2 separate regions of the Homo sapiens genome follow, and region 2 is linked to region 1. Evidence: promoter capture Hi-C in 16 types of primary human blood cells and fetal thymus (Javierre and others, 2016). All regions are on one chromosome and are shown on one strand. The core of a region is centred on a gene start or on the middle of the fragment in contact, and the rest is flanking DNA. Distances in the headings are between cores, read along the strand shown.

Region 1 (7,106 bases), core at 1-2,500:
CTGCCCCTCCGAGCTCACCGTTGTGGGTTTCCACCATTAGCACGCGGGTGACCTCCTTGGCGTAGTAGTCGGCCTCAGGCTCGGGCTCCGGTTCTGCACTCTCCCCGGCCACCCGGTCGCGGGTGCTGTTGTACAGGGCGAGCACGGCCTCGGGCAGCGGGCCGGGCGGCACCTCCCCCTGGCTCGGGGGGCTGGCGAGCCGCAGCTTGGACAGGATCTGGCCGCGGATGGCCTCGATGCGCTTCCGCTTCACCAGCTCCATGTCGATAGTCTTGCAGGTGGATAGTCCCGCGGCCGGCCGGCCAGGCGTCAGCACCAGTAGCCACAGCAGCGGTAGCAGCAGCGGCAGCAGCCGCAGCCCGGAGGGCGGCATGGGGGAGGCGGCGCCCCCCGGCACTGCCGAGAGCGCGAACAGGGCTGGTGTGGTGGGGAGGCCCCGCCCCTGCAGGGGCTGGGGGTCTCCCGGCAAAAGGTAGGAGGGCCTCGAGGGAAAGCTGAGGTCCTCAGGGAGAAGGGCGCAGTGGTGGAGGGGAGGCTTGGACCGGGGGTGTCTCAGTATCCCACGGAAATAACCTAGATGGGCGCGATCTGGTACCAGAAGGTGGGTGGTCTTGAATAGGGGATCTGTGGCAGGTCGGAGAGAGATCCGTCTCCTGGAGGAGAAAGGGTCTAGGATGCGCGGGGGCTCAGGAGACAGGCCGGGGATGAAGGCGGCGTGCAGGGGGTGCGCCCGAGGTCTGGGGAAAAGTCTTTGCGGGAGGCCGGGTCGGCGACTCCCGAGGGCTGGTCCGGAATGGGGGCGCCTGAGGGACGCCGTGTAGGGGGCAGGGAGGGAGCAAGCGTCCCCGGCGGCAAAGGGAGGCGGTCTGGGGTCCCCAAGTCCTGCCTCCTCGCGGGGCAGCGTCGCGCCAAGAGGTCCCCGCGCCTCCGGCTCCCAGCGGCAACGGAAAAGTCTCAAAAGTTTTTTTCCTCTTCTCCCGACCAGCTCGTCCCTCCTCCCGCTCCTCCTCCCCCTCCTCCCCGCAGTGGCGGGGGCGGCGGCGGCTCGTCTCAGACTCTGGGGCCTCAGGCTGCTCCTCGGCGACTCCTTCCTCCGCTCCGGGCCGAGGCCGGCCCCGCGGGCGGCTCAGAGCCGGGGGGGTGCCCCGGACGGGGCGTCCCCCCTGCCCCCGGCCGGGGCCCTCGCTGTCTGGCTGCTCCGCGGAGGGAGGTGGGAGGGAGATGGCCCAGGGCGCGAAGGGCGGCGGCGGCGGGGACCGGCTGGGTCGGCAGGGGGTTTTGAAGCCGCCCCCGGCCCCACCCAGGAAGCGCACGGGGCGGGAGCGGGGGCGGCCCCCAGGGGGAGGGCATGGGGGGGCTGGGCCACCGTCCTCATCTCGCGTGGGCGGGCTCCGAGGGGGGTCCCTTCAGCCCTGGGGGAAAGGGGGCGGGCACCCCGGCTCCGCCCCGCAAACAGGGTGCTGCCTCCTGGCGGCCAAGCGCCACCAAAGCGGGTGATCCAGATGCGCTGTGGCTTTGCGGGCGGTGTGGGTCACCAGAGAAAGAGGACCAGGCGGAGAAGGCTTAATCCGGGGGATGAGACACAGGGGAGCCGACCAGAGGAGGGGGACCCAGAACGGAAGGAGAGTCAGGCTGGGAAACAAGGTAGGAGAAGAGGGTCTGTCAACATGGGGGCCTCCGGAGGGTGTCAGTGGGAGGAGGGGGCAACAGGACACCTGAAGGATGGAAGGGTCAGGAGGCAGACACCTGTAAGAATTGCTCTCCTTTACTGAGCACCTCCCATGTGGCTAAGCAGCCTCCTGTCACTCAACACCCTGCGACCCCATACATTTACTGTCCCCAATTTACAGATAGGGAAACTGGGCCCAGAGGGACCCCGAGGTCCTAGAAAGGACAGAAGCGGTGCCATGCCTTAGCTGGGGTCAGCTCTGACAGTCTCTAGAGTCTGTGCTCTTGACCACTGTGCCATCCTCCCCCATCACTGGGTGTCCGGGGTGTGGATGGTGGTGACGTTGGAGGCAGAGTCCCTCAGCACTCCACGCCGTAGCGGTCGAAGTTGCGGAGCAGCAGGCCGATCTCCAGGTGCACGGTGCCACCAGCAGCTGTGTGCAGGCGATAGCGGTCGGCCCCACTGTAGATGGTGTCCCCATGCAGCAGCTGCGGCCCACCACCCACGAAAGCCCGTGCCAACTGTTCTCGCCAACTGCCCAGGGGCCGCCACGTGGGGCAGGCCAGCTGGTGGGTGCCCGGGCTACTGGGCACATGGCAAAATCCATAGCCTGCAAGCTGGCAGCGGCCAAAGCTGTCCTGGGACCACACCTGGAAATGGAGCCGGGGCCAGCCTGCAGGAAAGGAGAGAGAGGGGAAAGGAGGGATGGGTGGGGACCAGACTCCTGCTGATTCCCCACTCCCTGATACTCACTGGAGACCCCAGGCCCAGTCTTTTCCTCTCTGGGTTTCTGTCCCAGAGTTTCCAACCCAGCCTCCTTTCTAGGCTCCCACCGTCTTATCTATCCCCACACAGCAGCCAAAGTGATCTTTCCAAATCCATGTTACTCCCCTGCTAAGGATCCTTCCATAGCTCCCCAGTGCCCTCAGTATAAAGTCCAACCTCTTCAACATTCAAGGCCCTTCTAATCAGACCTCTGCTGAATTTCCTCTCTGTGTTATCCTCCTCCATGACCCCATGTCAGGGCAGCCCATTGCTCCTCCAGTCCCCAGGTAACCATCATGGGCCTTGTCAGGGACACCTCCTGCCTTCCCTCATGTCCCTGCCCTGCTCTCTTTGGGCCCAGGGCCTTCTTTCTTGCCCCTCTCTAATCCACCTTCCACCTGGCATCTGGAAGCATCTTTCTCTCCTTCCATAGCTTTGCCCATGTCCTCAGAACACAGTTCAGCTCCTCAGTCTGGTAGTCAAAGCCCTTGGAGATCCAGCCCCATCTCATCTCATGCTGATCCCTTCTCCTGTGCTAGACTCTGTTCTAGCTAGCTGGGGACACGGCAGACATGAACATGGATGGCAGACAAAAATTCCTGCCCCCGTGAAGCTGATATCCTAGACAACGAATGTAGTAAATAAGCAAATTATAGGGTAGATCAGATGGTGGTAATTGCTGTGAGGGAAAACAGAGCTGGGTAGGGTGAGGGTGGGGATACCGCTTTAGCAAGAAGGGGATCAAGGAAGCTTCATTAAGAAGGTGACATTTGAGCAAATGCTAAAAGGAAGGAAGGGAGTAGGCCATGTGGCCATCTAGAGGAAGAGTGCTCCTAGCCAGAGGGAACAGCAAGTGCCAAGGCCCTGGGGGGGGACTGTCTGGTGGGGACAGTATGGCTGGAGCCCAGACGGAGTGTGCCTGGTGGGGACAGCATGGCTAGAGCAGAATGAGGTGGGGAGACGGGAAGGAGGTGCCAGCCTGGTTGTGGAGAGCCTTGTGATGCATGCTAAGACTATGGCTTTCACCCTGAGTGAGATGGGGACCATTGGAGGGTTCTGAGCAGAGCAGAGATGGGACCTGACTTAGGTGTTCACAGGGTCCCAGCTGCATGTGGGGTGCAGACCAGGGGGGTTGGGGAAGGGGACTCCAGAGACAAGATTCTTGTCATAGTCCATGTGAGAGAAGAACTTGGACAGATCAAGGTGCTGGGCGAGAAAAGGGTAAGAAGTGGGATTTAGGATGTATTTCAAAAGTAGAGGCAGTTTAAGATTTCCTGATGGACAAAATGGGGGCTTGAGAAAAGAGAAAGCAAGGCTGGTGCCACCACTGGGGGACTGGAGGCCCCAAGAGCTGAAAGGTTAGAGCTGCCCACCTCACCCACACAGCACCGGAAAGATTTTTTTTTTCCCCAGCTCCAGCTTAAAAGACAGAAAGATTATTTAAAAGTGAAATCTCAGCCAGGCGCGGTGGCTCATGCCTGTAATCCCAGCACTTTGGGAGGCCGAGGCAGGTGGATCACCTGAGGTCAGGAGTTCGAGACCAGCCTGACCACCTTGGTGAAACGCCATCTCTATTAAAAAAAAAAAAGGCAAAAATTAGCCAGATGTGGTGGCACGTGGCTGTAGTCCCAGCTACTCGTGAGGCTGAGGCAGGAGAATTGCTTGAACCTGGGAGGCAGAGGTTGCAGTGAGCTGAGATCTTGCCACTACACTCCAGCCTGGGCAACAGAGTGAAACTCTGTCTCCAAAAAAAAAAAGGTGAAATCTCACTTGTCCATTACCTGCTCTGGCTCCCAAGTGCCTTCAGGAGATGGCCTCAGCTCCTCAGCCTGGCACTCAAGGCCCTGCATGGCCTGTCCCCTTCTGCCTTTCCCCTCTGCCGTCCCGCTCTCCCTCAATCCACTAGATGCCCTTGGCTCACTTTCCCCTTTGAGTCTTCCACGTAGCTCCCTCTGCCTAGAACCTTCTTCTATCCCTCTGCCTTATTAGCTCCGCTGGCCCTTCACAGCAAAGTTCAGAAGCCCCCTCCTCCAGGAAGCCCTCTCTGACCTCCCTGACAGAGTCAGCCACTTCCTCTGGGCTCCCACAGCCTCTCCAAATCACCTATCTTAGTCCTGCCCACTCTGAGGTGCCACTGTCTGGAGAGAGGTGTGTCCCCCCATAGGACGGTGAACCCTGTGAGGACAAGGCTAAGGGACACTGCCTTGATCCTCAATGTCTCCCTGGCATCACCCAACACAGGCTGGACACAGGGCAGGTACCAGGTAGACGTTCTTTATATTGGTGAAATATATGGCACATTTACCTAGGCAATTTCTCAGAATCAACTCATCTCCAGGAACCCACATTTTCTACTAGAAAGGCTTTCTGATGCCGCTCCTCCCCCAGTACTGATTTCCCCTTTGAGCAGCAGCTCTACTTTCAAGCCGAGGAGCCCTTCCTGGAGAAACAGCCCTTGCCTCTCTCAGACCCTGCCTCCCGGCTTCCTCTTTATTGGAGACTCTCGTTTTGTCTCTTTACTTGAATGCCACCTCCCCTCCCACCCTGACCCCCCACCTTCCCACCTCCTGCTCCACCCTGGCCTCTGCCCTAATCATACAAACTTGGGATCGCCTATTGAGCAGGCCTGGGAAGGCCTTAGCTCAGCCTCTCCAGGGCCAGACTTGGCTGCAAAAGGGACCTACGTGGTATGGGGAGCAGGGACAGGTCTTGGTGTTCCCAGCCCCAGGGACCTCAGAGGCTACTGGCCCCCTCCCCTCAGCCTGGACCCGGGTCCAGGTGTGATACCCACCTTGAAGACCTTTGGTGGCGAAGTGCAGGTCGATGGGGTGGGACCAGTAAGCCATGTCCCCTATCTGCGGGGTGTCCACTTGCGTTTGGCCCTCCCGCACGCCTGACAGGAGCTTCCATGCCGCCCCTGCAGTGAGAGCCGGGACATAGAGGGGTGGGAGGCAGCCATCGGGAAGGGGATGCCGCTGTGGCTATAGGACTGTTTCTCTGTGGCATCTACTGGTAGGGGTTACGAAGCATGGACTCTGGAACCAAGTATCTGGGTTCAAATCCTGGCACTACCTCTTCCTGCCTCTGCAACCTTGGGCAAGTTAGCTTTCTCTGCCTTGGTCTCCCCATCTATAAAATGAGCTGAGTAATAATGCATTCCTCATTGTCTTCATTTGTTTTCTGTTACTCTTAACATAATATCCAAAACTGGATAATTTATAAAGAAAAGGAATTTCTATCTCACAGTTATAGGAGACTGACCAAGGTGGAGGAGCCCCATCTAGTAAGAGCCTTCTTGCTGGAACTCTTCAGAGAGTCCCAAGGCTAGTGTGCTAACATGCCACTCACGTCTCTCTCTCTCATTTTATAAAGCCACCACTTCCTCTCCCATGATAACCCACTAATCCATTAACCCATTAATCCATGAATGGGTAATGAGCATAGTGAGCACGGGATAAGTCTTCAATATCATTTTATTACGATTCTCACCCCATATTTTCAAGCCTAGTCCAAGGATTAAGATGGGGCCAAGGGTACCCTCCAGGAGCGCATCCTGAAACACACATAACAATTTCGATCCTACTGAGGGGTGATAATGATAGCTAAAATGCACTGAGTGGTAGGATACAGTGGCTCACACCTGTAATCTCAGCACTTTGGGAGGCCAAGGCAGGTAGATCCCTTGAGTCCAGGAGTTCAAGACCAGCCTGACCAACATGGCAAAACCCCATCTCTACAAATAATATAAAAATTAAGGCTGAGCGCAGTGGCTCACACCTCTAATCCCAGCACTTTAGGAGGCTTAGGGGGGGGTGGATCATCTAAGGTCAGGAGTTCAAGACCAGCCTGGCCAACATGGCAAAACCTCGTCTCTACTAAAAATACAAAAATTAGTCTGGAGTGGTGGCAGGTGCCTGTAATCCCAGGTACTCGGGAGGCTGAGGCACGAGAATCGCTGGAAAAGCTGCAGTGAGCCGAGATTGCACCACTGCACTCCAGCTGGTGTGACACAGTGAGACTCCATCTCAAAAAATGAACAAACAAGCCAGGCGCAGTGACTCACGCCTGTAATCTCAGCACTTTGGGAGGCTGAGGCGGGCTGATCACCTGAGGTCAGGAGTTTGAGACCAGCCCGGCCAACATGGCGAAATCCCATCTCTACTAAAAATACAAAAATTAGGATGGGCGCAGTGGCTCACATCTGTAATCCTAGCACTTTGGGAAGCCAAGGCAGGTGGATCACTTGAGGTCAGGGGTTCGAGACCAGCCTGGCCAAAATGGTAAAACTCTGTCTCTACTAAAAACACACACACACACACCCACAAAATTAGCCACGTCTGTAATCCCAGCACTTTGGGAGACTAAGGCAGGCAGATCACAAGGTCAAGAGATCGAGACCATCCTGGCCAACATTCTGAAACCCTATCTCTACTAAAAAAATACAAAAATTAGCTGGGTGTGGTGGCGCACGCCCATAGTCCCAGCTACTCAGGAGGCTGAGGCAGGAGAATCACTTGAACCCAGGAGGCGGAGGTTGCAGTGAGCCAAGATGGTCCCATTGCACTCCAGCCTGGGCAACAAGAGCGAAATTCCATCTAAAAAAAAAAAGAAAAGAAAAAAAGAAAATGCACCGAGTACTAACTAAATCCCAGATGCTATGCTAAGTACTTTA
Region 2 (7,020 bases), core at 17-2,516, 210 kb after region 1:
AAATCTGATATCAAGTGTAGGCAAGTTGTAGGGAAAATGGGTGATGAACGAATAGAACAAATGCCTGGGGTAAACATCATTCGAAAGCCCAGAAAGAAGCTTTTAGACATCTTTATTGCTTTTTGGGGGGGCGGGGGGGGTGGGGTTCTGGAGGATTGATGGCTGAACTCTCATGAAAAGGGTGCAGTCAGAGAACAAGAAAGAGTTCCCAGGAATTAAAATTGTAAACAGAAAAGCAAATTCAGGGTAATTGCTGAAAGACCCACCAAAGGATCTCCAAGATACAATTGAGAAAATCAACCCTAACATAAAGGCAAAAGACAAAGGTGGGTTATTTGAGCGAGAAGTGGTTTGAGGATTTGCAAATATTTGTTTAGTATTGAATATGTGCCAAGCACACATTACAGAATACGTTACTTATGGGAAGTAACTTAGCCTTGAAGTAGCTCTGTGAGGATGCATGTGTTTCCTTTACCTATAATTCTATAGGAAAGGCAATTTTTAAAAATAAATCAAGGTTGGATTTCATCAATTTTACAGAATACGCATAACTTTATAAAATTTTCAAAATTCTCTAAAAACCTATTGAGATAATTAAACAAGCGTTTTTCTCCTTTAGTCTGTTAATGTGGAGAAGTATTTTCTGATGTTGAAACATACTTGCATTCCTGATATAAGCCATACGTATGATAACATATTTTGCTTGTTTGCTATTATTAATTCTGAATTTGGTTCACTAAGATTTTGTTTGATTTTGCATGTATATTTGTAAGTGAGATTGGTCTATAATTTTCTTGTGTGGTTTTGGTATCATGCTATAACAGCTTCTGAAAATGTGTTAGAAAGTGTTTTCTTGTTAAAGTTTTAAACCTTCTGAGAATTGGTTGAGGAGGAGCTTGAAAATTTGTTAAAATTCACCATAAAAATATCAGGACCTGAAATTTTGTTATTGTTGTCAGTAAATAAAAATTATCAACTGTCTTTTTAATTGCTTTACTGATTATTGCTCTATTCATAATATCCATTTTTTCATGAGTCAGTTTTGGTAATTTACATTTATCGAGATAGTTGTCCGTTTCATCTAAGTTTTAAAATATATTGGTACAGCTATTGTGGTATTCTCTGAATAATTTTAAAATCTCTCTTGTGTCTTCCTGATTTGTCCTATTTAAATTTTTTTGATTAATCAATTTATATTTTCATATTGTTTTCTCTCTCTCTCTCTCTCATAATGTTATGGTTTAGATAGGAATGGTCCAGGGTGGAATGACACAAGTAAAGAAACAATAATGTGGTTTTGTGTACTATAAGGAAACATATAAAAGAAGGCATGGGAATACAAAGGAATCAATTAATTGCACATTAAGTATTTGTTAAGGTCCAATAATTTGAAAAATATTAAGAAAAGTGATACTGTCCTTGCTGGACATAGGACATTAAACAGACCCTGTTAAACAATGTTGAGAACAAATTAAGGCTATTTAAGGTAGTTCGATAGCAGTCAATTATAAAATGTGCATATCTTGTGATTGAGCAAATGCACTTCTAGATATTACTATATAGAAATGTAGAAGTGTGCCAAGCTAAACAACCATAGATGTTCATTGCAGCCCTGTTTGAATGGTCATAGAAAATCCGGGATGAGAGTCCAAAGACTCAGCAAACAACAATTTAGCAATTTTGCTACTGCATAAAAGGGTGCCCCCTTTTCAAGCCCACAACAGAGATGTTGCTACTAATCCTGAATTCAACCCAGTTTGTTGCACATTTTAGGATTTCATCCTGATGACTAATTTTAGGGTCACCTATATTTGGTTACCACCTCTATTTGGTTGCAAATAAAACCGAGCACAAGTTGACTGGCAGAAAAAGAGACTGTGCTAGCTCATATCATTGTAAAGTCAGCCAGAAATTTGGCTTATGGCAAAGTTTGGTCTAAGACTCAAACAATCTCGCTAGATCTCCTGACAGTAGGGAAGATGGTGGGTCCCAGTTTTTTTTGTTTTGTTAATCAATAGTGAGGATTGGGAATGTGGAGAAGAAAGGAGGAAGATGCAGTAAAAAAAAAAAAAAAAATGCTTTGGACTTTCCAGACCCTGCATCATTTTGTTTTGGGATTGGCTTCCTTCTTCCTTTTTAGTGCTTCATGATTCACCCTTCATCCTACAGACATAGGTGTTGATGATGGATCATTGAGGGATGTGCTTGACATTTTGGGAACAAGTGGCCTTTGAGGATGGGACTGTGGATGTGGCCTCTGTATCCCAGTCAGATAAAACTATACAGAAACATAATTTTCTTATATATTTTGGATATTATCTTCTTATCAGATGTATATATTTACAAATATATATGTATATATTTACAAATATATTCTCCTCCCATTTGTAGGTTGTCTCTTTGCTCTGCTGGCCTTTTTTTTCTTTGCTGTATAAAAGCTTTTTAGTTTGATGAAATCCCGTTTGTTTATATTTGGTTTTGTTGCTTATGCTGTTGAGATTTTATCCAAAAACTCTTTGCCTAGACCAATGTCATGGATTTTCCCCCTATATTTTCTTCTAGTAGTTTCATAGTTTCAGTTCTTACATTTAAGTCTTTATTTAATACATTTTGAGTTAATTTTTTGTGCATGGTGAGGGATAGGGTCTAGGTTCATTCTTCTGCATATGAATATCCAATTCCCCAGCACCACTTATTGAAGAGGCTGTCCTTTCCCCATTGTGTGCATGTGGCTCCTTGGCTGAAAATCAGTTAGCTAGAGATGCATGGGTTTATTTCTGGGATTTTTATTCTGTTTCATTGATCTATGTGCTTGTTTTTATGCCAGGACCATGCTGATTTGGTTACTATAGCTTTGCAGTATGCTTTGATTGTCAGGAAGTGTAATGCCACTAGCTTTGTTCTATTTGTTTAAGATTGCTTTGGCAACTCAGGGTGTTTTGTGCAGGTTTTAGGAATTTTTGTGGTTTCTAATTTTAGGATCTTCTACTTCTTCGAAGAATATCATTGGTGTTTTGACAGAAATTGCATTGAATCTGTAGACCACTTTGGGTGGTAAGGACATTTTAGCAATATCAGTTCTTCCAATTCATGAACATGGAATATCTTCTATTTGTGCGTGTGTCTTTTTCAATTTATTTCATCAATGTTTTACAGTTTTCATTATAAAGGTCTTTTACTTCCTTGGTTAAATTTACTTCTTTTGTTTCAGCTATCATAAAAGATAGCTTAAAAATTTTAGCAGTAGATAGCTAAGAATAAATTGTATTCTTTTTCAGATAATTCATTATTGGCTATTACTGGTATTACTGGTGGACTATTGCATAGCATGGTTGATTAGAGTTAACAATAATGTATTCCATATTTCTTTTTTTTTTTTTACTTTTATTTTTTGAGACAGGGTCTCGCTCTGTTACCTACACTGAAGTATACAGTGGCACAATCTCAACTCACTGCCAACTCAGCCTCCCCAGCTCAAGCAATCCTCCCACCTCAGCCTCCTGAGTGACTGGGACTACAGGTGTATGCCACCATGCACAGCTAATTTTTGTCTTTTTGTAGAGACAACAACTCGCTATATTGTCCAGCCAGCATAGTCTTGAACCCCTGGGCTCAAGCAGTCCACCCATAATGGATGAGAAAGTGTTGGGATTACAGCTGAGATGGGATTGCGGGGGGCGGGTTGGGGAAGGTGAGGTTCAGAGAGGGCAGGGCCTGCAGGGAGAGGGGCTGCAGGGAGCTAGATACTGCCCCCCAAGGAGGAGGGAGCACTGTTCCCATCAGAGTGCACATCTCCTTGCAGCAGCTGCACAAATAGAGAGCCCTGGCCAGGCTGATGGAGCCTCCCATGCCTGCTTTGCCCCAGGGTGTGGATTCTGAAATCTGTGCCCCTAACGGGTGGGACTGAGGTCCACAGTGACATCCCAGGGGAATCTATGATTCCAAACTCCAGCCACCCCGCCTACAAAATAGGAAAACGCTATGCTTTTCCTATTAAATCCCAAATTCCATCAGTGCAAGCTCTCACCCTCTAAATCAGAAAGTTCAGTCATTCCTGGCGTCCTCCCACACCCCCAGCCTGACTTGCAGACACACAGGGTGGCTGACACCTGTCCCTGCTCCTCCCCCTGGCCCAGCTGCTGTGCATCCTGGAGGTGATGAATGATCAGGACAAGGGAGCCTAGAGCGGGCCCCACAGCTGTCAGGAAGCCAGGACTCAGCCTCCAGGCGGCAGTCACCCTGGTGCCACAGCGACAGCGCTGATGGCCATTCTGAAGACTGGGGGTGTCAGGAGAGCTGGGCGTCCCACAGAACTGCACAGAATAATGGGGAACGAGGGTGACACAGGACTCAGGATTTCAGATGGGTAGGTAGGCTCAGCTGGGAGCTCAGGGACAGACCTGAGGAGCCTCAGTGGGAAGTGCTGAAGTGGAAAGTTCTGGAATGTTTCAGGAAAAAGGCTGGAGGCTTAGAGGAAAGGCTGTCGCTCCTAATATGGCTGGCAACCCTGGATGGGCTGTGTTCCTCCCACCTGCCCATCCTCTCACTGCTGCCACCTCTAGGGACACAACCTCTCTTCATGTCCACCTTCCCAAACTCACCTGCACTCCTCCATTATCTGACTTTATGTGAAAGCAGTGCTAAGATCCCTCTCCTGCAATGCAAGAAGGAGATGAGAGGCCCGGGTCCCCACAGACAACTCAGCAGTGGGGTCCTGCTGAAGTGGGACCGGGCAGAATCATGCACTCCCAACATCCTGGATCCTGACTGGGGGTAACAGTGAAGTTCAAAGACCATGCCATCAAAATCTCCAGAGTGAGGCTCCTCCCTGGGGTCCCTGAGGTCTGTCCAGGAGCTGCTCCCTGAGCAAATCTAGAGCGTGGAGGGCTGGGGTTGTGGCAGTAAAAGCAGCCACATTTGTCTCAGGGTGGAAAGGGAGACGGTGAGCTCCAGTAAGGGCAAGGGCGCCATCTAGTGGGCGCCTCCTGCTAAGGAGCAAGGAGACCAGGAGAGCGGAGATCAGGGCTGGCCTTGGACTAAGGGGTGAGTTCAGGTGGAGGGGACTGAGGTGTAAGGAGGCGGGTGAAGTGGGGAAGTGGTGGGGAGACATGGGAGGAGCAGGTGAGGGGAAGCTTCAGGGAAGCTGCGGGAGGGCACAGCAGGGCTCTCCACTCCTCAGCATTGACATTTGGGTGGTCAAACTGGTGGGGCTCTGTGAACTGCAGGGTGTTCAGCACCATCCACCCACTCAATGCCAGCAGGACTCCCTCCCCCAGCTCTGACAACCAACAATGTTTCCAGACTTTGCCAAATGTCCCCTAGAGGGCAAAATTTCCCCTGGCAGAGTCACTGATCCACACTAATCTCTAATAACAATTCACCAGTAAAATCCTTCACTTGGGAGAAGAATCGCATGTGTGGGAAGAGTAGAAACTTATATCTTCAATATCTGTCAAAATGGCTTTCATTTATTCCATAATTTGATGTACCAGGAGAAGGCATGTTTAGAGATGATGCCATTTGGCTGCCTGTACCTCACAGCAGGAATGACATGGGCTTTCCAAGGATCTATACAACAAAAACCAGAATGACACACACTGAGTTACACTACAAAGTGGGACATGGGGGATCCTGTAGACATTGAAAGAAGAAAATGCATGACCCCAAGGCACCAGATAGTCCACTCTGATGCTCTCACCATCCTAGAAAACATCTCAGCCATGAATGCAGTCACATATGTCATTAGGAAGGAATGTCTTATTAAGGGGAAAATTGTAGCAAAGGAATTTCTGTTTATGTTCAAATTTGTAGACTTTTGTATTATTCTTTAAATAAGAATCTACTCTCCCCCAAAATGAATGCAATCAGTGTCTGGACAGTGTTGGGGTCTTACTCCTGGCCCCTGGGAGCTGGGAGCTGACAGTGCCCTGCTGCCCCAGCCCTGGGCCTTCTCTGAACCTCAAGAACACTGGATGGCCCCCATTTAGGGAGTAGAGAGGAGAGGTCTTTTAAACATCCTCACCAGTCACCTCTCCACCTTTCAGACCCTGGGCAGAATCTGTTGCCCACTCTTGGATTTGATCTTTAAGTTACTGACTTTAAAGCATTTTGACACTTTTTTTTTTTTTTGGTAGTCAGAAGCTTTCCACCTCCTTGGGAAAAGTGATTCTCTACTCTATGTACAGGAATAACCAGTAGAAATAGAGAAAAAATGCATTAATATTCAGAAAGAAGATGATCTCTATGTGAACAAATGAAAGCTTAAAATCATCAGAGTCAACATAAAATCAACATTGCCAGTGCTAAAACTACAAAAGTGACATTAACGGTGAACTAGAAGAATAAAACAAGCATTACAGTTGCTGGTAAACCTAAATCACTTATTTTTTTAAAAGACCATTCTGGTATATTGCAATGATGACAGGAGTGCCCTTCAGTCAATATGATGCCTGTAATTTTTGTGACCTGGCAAGATATACTGTCCCTTCTCCTTTTAAATCTCAAATGCAAAATGAGAGGCAACTCCTGGGTCACCCCCTCCCAGAGCAAACTGCCTGCAAGCAGCCCCTGGAAGAGCAGAGGCCCTAGTTTCCCTGATCCTCAAGGCAGGAGCGATGGGAAGCTCCCTGTAAGCCGGGGGAGAGCTTTGTTCCCAGAATGTTCCTCCTCTTCCCAGAGGCACCAACCCCGATGCCCTGACACTTACCTTCTGCTCTCTCGCCCAATGTTCACTCAAATATTGAGTGCTTGGTGAGTCTGCAGAGCTCAGGAACTTCTGGGAGCCAAATCACCACCAGCTCCTCCAGAAAAGATACCTGTGCACACCCAAAACCACCCCACTGAGCCCTGCCTGGGGTCTGTACCACATCCAGCATGTGCACTGTGAGCATAGAATCCGGCCCTGAATTCATGACCACCCACCAACATGCCCCCAACTGAAACCAGCAAATTCCCACACATGGCAAGCACTGAGGCTTGGAGGTGCTTTCTCACGAGGTGGTTCTGCTTCCACCATGGGGT

What was found. The method cuts DNA at HindIII sites, captures the fragments that hold promoters and counts their contacts. A CHiCAGO score of 5 or more calls a contact.
Region 2: a contact is called between a fragment that was not itself captured here and the fragment with the promoter of TGFB1 in region 1, in 1 of 17 cell types (naive B cells). The highest score is 5.7, in naive B cells.

Annotation. Positions count from the first base shown.
Region 1 is chr19:41,352,672-41,359,777 of GRCh38, forward strand. TGFB1 (transforming growth factor beta 1) reads right to left here and starts at 1,251. Exons shown (of 7, transcript NM_000660.7): 1 at 19-1,251. The coding sequence starts at 373. It overlaps B9D2 (B9 domain containing 2), which reads right to left. Exons shown (of 4, transcript NM_030578.4): 3 at 5,226-5,351; 4 at 1,746-2,342. The coding sequence ends at 2,029. RefSeq lists silencers at 1-263, 424-503, 804-873, 1,024-1,553 and enhancers at 1,554-1,703, 1,627-2,128. The HindIII fragment of the contact is 9,879 bases long and covers 1-3,182 here.
Region 2 is chr19:41,565,837-41,572,856 of GRCh38, forward strand. It overlaps a transcript of CEACAM21 not described here. Among named protein-coding and RNA genes, the nearest start is that of CEACAM21, 6.8 kb to the right of the region's middle. RefSeq lists a silencer at 3,996-4,290. The HindIII fragment of the contact is 2,339 bases long and covers 98-2,436 here.